Regions from separate parts of the Homo sapiens genome. Here region 1 is linked to region 2. The links are contacts of gene promoters, found by promoter capture Hi-C in human tissues and cell types (Jung and others, 2019). All regions are on one chromosome and are shown on one strand. Each heading gives the region's core, a stretch centred on a gene start or on the middle of the fragment in contact. The rest is flanking DNA. Distances are from core to core; before and after follow the strand shown.

Evidence for each region. The method cuts DNA at HindIII sites, captures the fragments that hold promoters and counts their contacts. A contact is called where the count stands out against the background at its distance.
Region 1: a contact is called between a fragment that was not itself captured here and the fragment with the promoter of TCP10L in region 2, in 2 of the 25 tissues and cell types used here (H1 embryonic stem cells and spleen).

What each region holds. Positions count from the first base shown.
Region 1 is chr21:32,256,617-32,260,468 of GRCh38, reverse strand. It overlaps a transcript of MIS18A not described here. Among named protein-coding and RNA genes, the nearest start is that of MIS18A, 21 kb to the left of the region's middle. The HindIII fragment of the contact is 6,088 bases long and covers 1-3,852 here.
Region 2 is chr21:32,583,802-32,587,467 of GRCh38, reverse strand. It overlaps TCP10L (t-complex 10 like), which reads left to right and starts at 1,945. Exons shown (of 5, transcript NM_144659.7): 1 at 1,945-2,047; 2 at 3,163-3,307. The coding sequence starts at 3,164. The region is part of intron 5 of CFAP298-TCP10L (CFAP298-TCP10L readthrough); the gene reads left to right. RefSeq lists a silencer at 1,907-2,106 and an enhancer at 3,188-3,666. The HindIII fragment of the contact is 17,408 bases long and covers 1-3,638 here.

The DNA.
Region 1 (3,852 bases), core at 1,266-3,765, 330 kb after region 2:
GGGTCCCTGGTCCTGAGTTTCTAATGATCTGCCGACATCCCCTGGATATGCCCTGTGTACTCTCTGTCTCACACCTGACCCTTTTGTATATATACAGTTCTTACTTGTCCTTCAAGATCTTGCTTGAGTGCCACTTCCTCCAGGAAGCCCTTGCTGATTTCTCAGTCAGATGTCATTTCTCCCACTTCATTATTCTTAAATGACTTCAGCATGGTCTGACCTTATTACTTAGATTTTGTATTCTAGTTTTGTGGGAACTGTTCCTGGAATACTAGGGTTGTGTTTTCCAGAGATCCAACATGTTGTGGGACCTTGTACACTGGAGGCAATTCATACTTTGTAGACCAGTTATGATGGTAAATGGAAAAATCTGAAAAAAAAAAAGCTGAGAAAAATGGTTCCACCAAAGTATTCAAAATTGCTTTTCATATTTCAGAATTGACATATAAGAGTAAAAAGAAAGTAACCCAAACTGCAGTGGTGCTGTGGGGCTAGCATAAAATGTTAATCAGGTAAATAGGAACTCAAAGGAAATTTACCAAATTGAGCTCATTTACATGTGTAATTACCCATCTGTGATCATTCTACTGTTCTATTTATTCTGTCTTTCTCCTCCCACACTGGGTTAAAAATACTTTGTATTAAAGATTTTCTTCATAACCAAATACAATGAATTCTTGGGATTGGGGGTGGGGTGGGGTGTGAATGCCACTCTGACACTGGAAACAAGATGCCGGAGTGGGCCTCAGTGCGCGCTGTCTGGGTGCAAGGGAGAAGCCCGGCAGATACACATTAACGCCACCTTCAGACAGGCACATCCCAAGAGGAGACTTGGAGGCAATGGCATTGAAAACCACCTGCTGCTTTCAGTGATCAAGAAAGAAACCTGTGGCTTTCATGAATGCGGAATCCATAAGACACAGTCAGATGCCGTCCTGGAATGGTTGCTTCCTGAAGTAGGAAGGTCCAGAGTAGGCTAGGAAGGTGTCAGGGAGTGGGCTGTCTCCTCACAGGATACTCTTTCTTAGGGGGAAATGATGACCTTGAGCTGAGGTAAGGAGGCCCTTGAGCTTGAAGATGCGAAAGAAAAGTGGCTCCCCAGCCTTCTCAGTGCTTGGGTGTGGGAAAGAATTGTAACCCCTGGGAGGCCAAGGCGAGGCAGAGAATGCCCTCCAGAGGCCTGCGGTCTTGGAGCGAGGAGGCCCTGACAGAGGAGACCTGGCCAACCCTTCCCTCGAGCCCCTGGCCACTCTCAGGGTGGGCATTGCCTGAGGCTTATCAGAAATGCAGACCCTGGCTGGGCACGGTGGCTCCCACCTGAAATCCTGGCACTTTGGGAGGCCGAGGCAGGAGGATCGCTTGAGTCTAGGAGTTCGAGACTGGCCTGGGCGACATAGCAAGACCAGCAAGACTCTACGAAAAAATTAAAAAGTTAGCAGTGGTAGCGTGCACTTGCAGTCCCAGCCACCCTGGAGGCTGAAGTGAGAGGACTGCTTGAGCCTGGGAGGTCGAGGCTGCAGTGAGCTGTTATCTTACCACTGCACTCCGTCCTGGGCAACAGGCCTATCTCTAAGTAAGTAAGTAAGTAAGTAAATAAATAAATAAATAAATAAATAAATAAATAAATAAATAAAATGCAGACCCTCACGCCTCATCCAGGCCCGCTGAACCAAACCTGTGCTGCTGCAACAAGATGCTAGGTGGTCCCCAGGCACGTTCAAGTGTGACACGAGCTGACTTAGGGGACAGTTCTTCCCGGCTTTCTTGAATAAAATGGTTCTTTTATATGTTGGTGCGTTTTGGTGTGATTACTAATTTTGCTGAGTACCGTAGTCATTTTTTCAGTGTCACTGTTTGACATGCTGTAAAGTAGGTTAGTATCACTCTCAGGCTGTGAGTCGGACTTTTTGTTTTGTTTCCCCAATCAGGCCACAAGGGGCCGCATTTCACCATGTAAACATTCATCGTGTCCAGCCTGTTCACAACCACAGTGGGAAACTCAGTAGCTGCAGGAGGCCCTGTCCAACAGGAAGGTTGCCTCATTGCAACCTGACTTTATCCCTTCACTCCTGTAACCAACATTCTTAATTAAAATAAAATAATAGTCAAGGCCCCCCGTCCCCGATGCAGCCCCCATCAGACTGCTAACAGCTTTTTCGGTATTCGTCCCTAAAATTGCTTACATCTACACTTGCACAGGATTTTCCCCAAGGCACTAGCATTCTACACTGGAAGTTAATTATGTTTTCTCTTTCAGTCGTTTTCTGTTTTCATGACTCAGATTTGTTACTAAATCCCCTCCCCCAATGCTTTCTGAGTCCTTAATGCTGTGTTTGCCAGCTCAGTTTGGAGTTGCCGGCTGAGAGGTGGCAGTCTTCCGGAATAAGGACATTTCTGATCACCTTGCTAATGTGTCTGACTCACACGAGACTTGGCAGGAACCCTCTATCTGTATTAATGCTATAGATTCCTTTGGAAAGATTAAGGAACAGTGCTATCTTGTTATGGGTCAAGACATCCAAAGCACATTATTTAGACGACAACATTGTCCAAAGCTTTAAAGTGAACTCAGGCAACTACATTTTATGCCAGACTTCCATTTGCTGAAACAGATTAAAAAAATACTCGTGCATTAAGTGATTATGCAGAGGCAAAGTGGTAGTTCTGTGAGGTTCCAGCACACTGGGAGTCCTGGAGCCTTGGGGTGTGTGTCCTACGGAGCCTCCAACAACTGGAGCAATTTCACATCCCTGGCGTCCATCTCCCAGGCTAGGTTTCCTCATCTGTAGAAAGAAGGGGTTGGATTAGGATGCTCCGTAGGTTTCCTTTTAAAAGTAATCTAAAAAAGCAATCAGAAATGTTTTGTTATTTTAATTAGGTATTGATTTGAAATGGAAACCTCGATTGATAGCTGATAGAGGCTCATCTAAGGCATTTGTAATCTGATGGACATAGACAATATTCTGCCCATTAGAGAACCAAGACCACAAAAGAAGCTTAGAATAGAAGAGCCGCCCACATTTGCTGCTGCTGTGTAATGAACAGTTGTAGGTGGCACCAGGTGCATGTCTTGAAGAAATTCTTGAATCAGCTCATGGAATTCTGAACTGGATTAAAACATGGGCACGTGAACATTTTATTTAACAGCATCTCTGGCTGCCAACATTTCACCAAGAATCTTCATTATTAAAGTGCACTGGTTATTCCTTTTGCCATCATTTGAGTTACTCTCTGTGAAGAAGACAGATGTCTTGCTATAGTCATTTCACTTGCTCAAGTTCCCCTGTCCTCTCTCCTCAATCGCTATGTCCCCCTTAGCGAAGCCATAACCAGTCGAAACTTAAGTGAGTCAGCTTTGGATGTCAGCCATAGAGCAGGCGAGCCAAGTCCCGTGATGCCAGCCCCTGGACAGAGTTTCCAAGGCAACAACTGCTGTGTTTCTCTCCACTCTGAAGGAAAACCTGGGAGAATCCAGTCCTGATGTGGCTGTTAAGGGAGCCAGGGTGGGGGAAAACAATCTGTGAATGAGCAGACTTTCGTTCTAGCCTGTTTTTTTTTCCTCTGTAAGAATGAGTCTTATTCACATGCATTTTTCTGTAGCTCTGAAATGAGGATTTGAATTGAACTGTTTGAGATGGGTGGTTAAAAGAAAATATACACAGATCATCAGTCTGAGAAGCACTAGATGATCATGCAGATTAAGAAGTAATAAAGTCAGAATTCTCACAGGAACAAGAGATCATTTTTGTCACTGAGTACAAGAAAGATTAGCATGAGCCAAGACACAGAGGCCGAAAAAGGGGCAAGGGACAGTCCCCACTGAGAACAGCTTCCATCTTCAATGTTTTTCTC
Region 2 (3,666 bases), core at 696-3,195:
CCAGAGGGCCCTGGAAGACCATGCCTGAAATGCGGCTAAGGCACCGCGAGGCTGAACAGAAAACCGGGGCCTTATCAGAGAGAAGAGAAGGGCCCCACAGTCCAAACGCCCAGGAGCCTCCGCCCTGACCTGCTGCCGCACGTGGTTGCTGCAGGGTGAGAATCTGGGGAAGACTCAATGAAGAAAATGTCCTGGCCAGGCCGGGAAGAGCAACACACAGAGAGCCGCAGCAGAGACAGGGATGGGGGGACCCTGCCCTGGGAGCCGCCCGGCTGAGGCTCAGGAGGGGAGCTGCAAAGCCTGAAACCTACACAACCTCTCACACACTTCAGGACACACACAACCCCTCACGCACCTCAGGGACTCACACAACCTCTCACACACCTCAGGAAGCTACACAAACTCTCACACACCTCAGAAACCTACACAAACTCTCACACACCCCAGGGACTCACACAACCTCTCACACACCTCAGGACACACACAACCCCTCACATACCTCAGGAACCTACGCAAACTCTCACACACCTCAGGACACACACACAACCTCTCACACACCTCAGGACAAACACCCACTCACACACCCCAGGACCCAAGCACAACCCCTCACACACCTCAGGACACACACACAACCCCTCACACACCTCAGGAACCCATATAAGGAACCCACACACCTCAGGCTCATACACACAAGCCCTCACACACCTCAGGAATCCACACACAACCCCTCACACACCTCAGGGTCTCACACACAATGTTGACACACCTCAGGGTCTCATACACAAACCCTCACACACCTCAGGACCCACACAATTCATCACACTTCTCAGGACACACATAAAACCCCTCACACACCTCAGGGGCCCATACATAACCCCTCACACACCTCAGGACTCACACACAATCCTCTCACACACCTCAGGACTCACACAACCTCTCACACACCTTAGGACCCACACACAACCACTCACACACCTTAGGACCCACACACAACCTCTCACACACCTTAGGACCCACACACAACCACTCACACACCTTAGGACCCACACACAACCTCTCACACACCTCAGGGACCCACACACAACCACTCACACACCTCAGGACCCACACACACCTCATACACCTCAGGGACACACACAACCCCTCACATACCTCAGAAACCTATATAAACTCTCACACACTTCAGGACAAACATACAACCTCTCACGCACCTCAGGACACACACACACACACTCGCACACCTCAGGACACACACACACACTCTCACAGTTAGAATGACACATGGGGACAAAAGTGCCTTCTGTTTCCTCTTTGTAGTATTCTCTTCATTCATTCATGACGTCGGCATTTACTGCCTATTGCATGCGAATCGCTTGCAGAACTATCCAAGTGACACACGTCCCAAGCAGGCTCAGGTGAGCCCCAGGTGTATGTTGTCCACACGCAGCACCATGGATGAGAAGGACAGCCAGGGTTTAACAGGAATATCGACTCTTGCTTGCTCCTCATTCTCTTCTCTATCACAAAAATCACACGGACAATTCAGATGGAGATGCATTTAGTGAAATGATGAAACTTTGAATCCTGTCTCCTATTTAAACTCACATATATTATTTTCCCTTCATAAAAATGTTTTTTCTAGTAAATAATTTGATATCCGAAGAAAGTTTGTATTTCTCCAAGAATGTATGCTCAGAGAAATGAGCTCTTACTACACGTTGCGTATTGAAGACTGGATATAAAACACATGGTTTTTGTCAATTTGGAGGAGTAGTTTGACTCTCTCCAATGTCCTTTGTGGATGGATGGACTCCACTGACGATGAGCTTCTATATTAAGAATTGCAGGTTTGGGGATGTTTAATTATTATCTGAGCTGGTACAGTGGTGACGCTGAGTGAGACGTTCATGTCCCTTTAAGACAGAAAGTCCGTTGGAACTGTCCGCTGCTCTCTGGTCTCTGGATATGAGGCAGGAGGGCTTGGGGACAACTGTGGGGACATGGCCCAGATGATCTGATCCTGGCAGTAGTGACTGTTGGGGACCAGGTGAGGTGACGAGGTCTGGTGGTGGGGCTGAAGGAAAGGGTCTTCCCTGGACTGAGGGGGTCATGAGTTTGGGGCCGAGGACACTGGGGTGTCCCCTCAGAGGAGCAGGAAAGAAGGAGCTTTCTCAGGGCTGTGAGGACCGTGACCCCAGCCCACTTCCGCAGAAACATTCCCAGTCTCCGCGGGGAAGGAATGGCAGTGATCTGGTTACTGGTAGGTCTTGCTCTAGACCTTCGATTCGCTTCCATCAGGAGACTCTCTTTTAAATAGCATTTCTCCGATCACTGTGGTTAAACTGTTCCTTCTCACACAGTTAGAAGTTTATGAATTAAACAGTCGGGGTTTCGTTGGGGGCCACTGGCTTCCTAAAACGGACAGGGCAAGGCAGGGGTGGAGGCAGCTTTCAGAGACGACCCTGCAGGCTTGCAGGAAAGCTTTGCGTTTTTCTCTTTCGTTTTTGTTCTCTAATTGCTGTGAACTTCCTAGAACTGGCATAAATGCTGTACCTATAAAAAGGTGTTTCCTTTCCACATCTTCACCATGAATTCACAAATGTCACCCTGATGGTTCAAGACACATACTCAACACGGTGGAGGGTCTGCCTGTGCCCCTCCAGGTGGGTGCTGATTAAAGGGCTGAGAATTCCCTCGGTGTCTCATGCGACCCTCCACTCACACCTGCTCACACCCTGAGACCATTCCACTCACACCTGCTCATACCCCAAGACCATCGTGCTCACATCCGCTCACATCCATTCACATTCCGCTCATATCCTGCTCACAACCCACTCACATCCCACTCACACCGGCTCACACCCCACTCACACCCCTCTTTGGATGACTGGAGTGTGTTAGGTGTCAGGCTGATCTTCTAGGATCTAAAGCATTTTCCACGGAGGATGGTGGAGAGCCAGGTGTGGACAGCTCAGTCCCTCTGTCTGTGGTGTCCTTTCACCTGGTCAGCTTCGGGCCTGGGAATGTGCACATGACCCAGGGGGAGAAGGAGCGGCTGCGGGTCCTGCTCACCCTTAGTTTGGGGCTGGGGCCTTCAGCCCACACTGACGGGGTAGGAGGGCTGCATTCAAGTGTCCCCATAGCCCTTCCCTTCCCAACCAGGATGCTGGCAGGTCAACTCGAGGCCAGGGACCCCAAAGAGGGCACCCACCCAGAGGACCCGTGCCCAGGAGCTGGGGCTGTCATGGAGAAGACAGCTGTGGCAGCCGAGGTTCTCACGGAGGACTGCAACACTGGGGAGATGCCAGTGAGTTGAGCTCTGTGGGGACAGAGTTAGTCCCACCAGGCGGGACCCTGATTCCTGTCCCTGAGGCCCGTCATTGGACTTTCCCTTGCTGGACCCCTGTAGGAATGCACCACCCCGGGACACTGATTCTGTACTTCCTCTCCAAGGGGCATGTGGCTCTTTCCCCCTCTGCAACCGTATCTCTTGGTGGATGGGAGGCAGGGCAGGGAGTTAAAGAAAATATTAACATTCCAGCTTTTCTCCTCTAATCCAGGAGAAGGCACCAGACTTTAAAAACTTCATTAAAGAAAATCAGAAAGTTGACATGCCTCACATCATCCCAGCAAGTTTCCTGATTTTTACCATCTTCCTCATTGGAC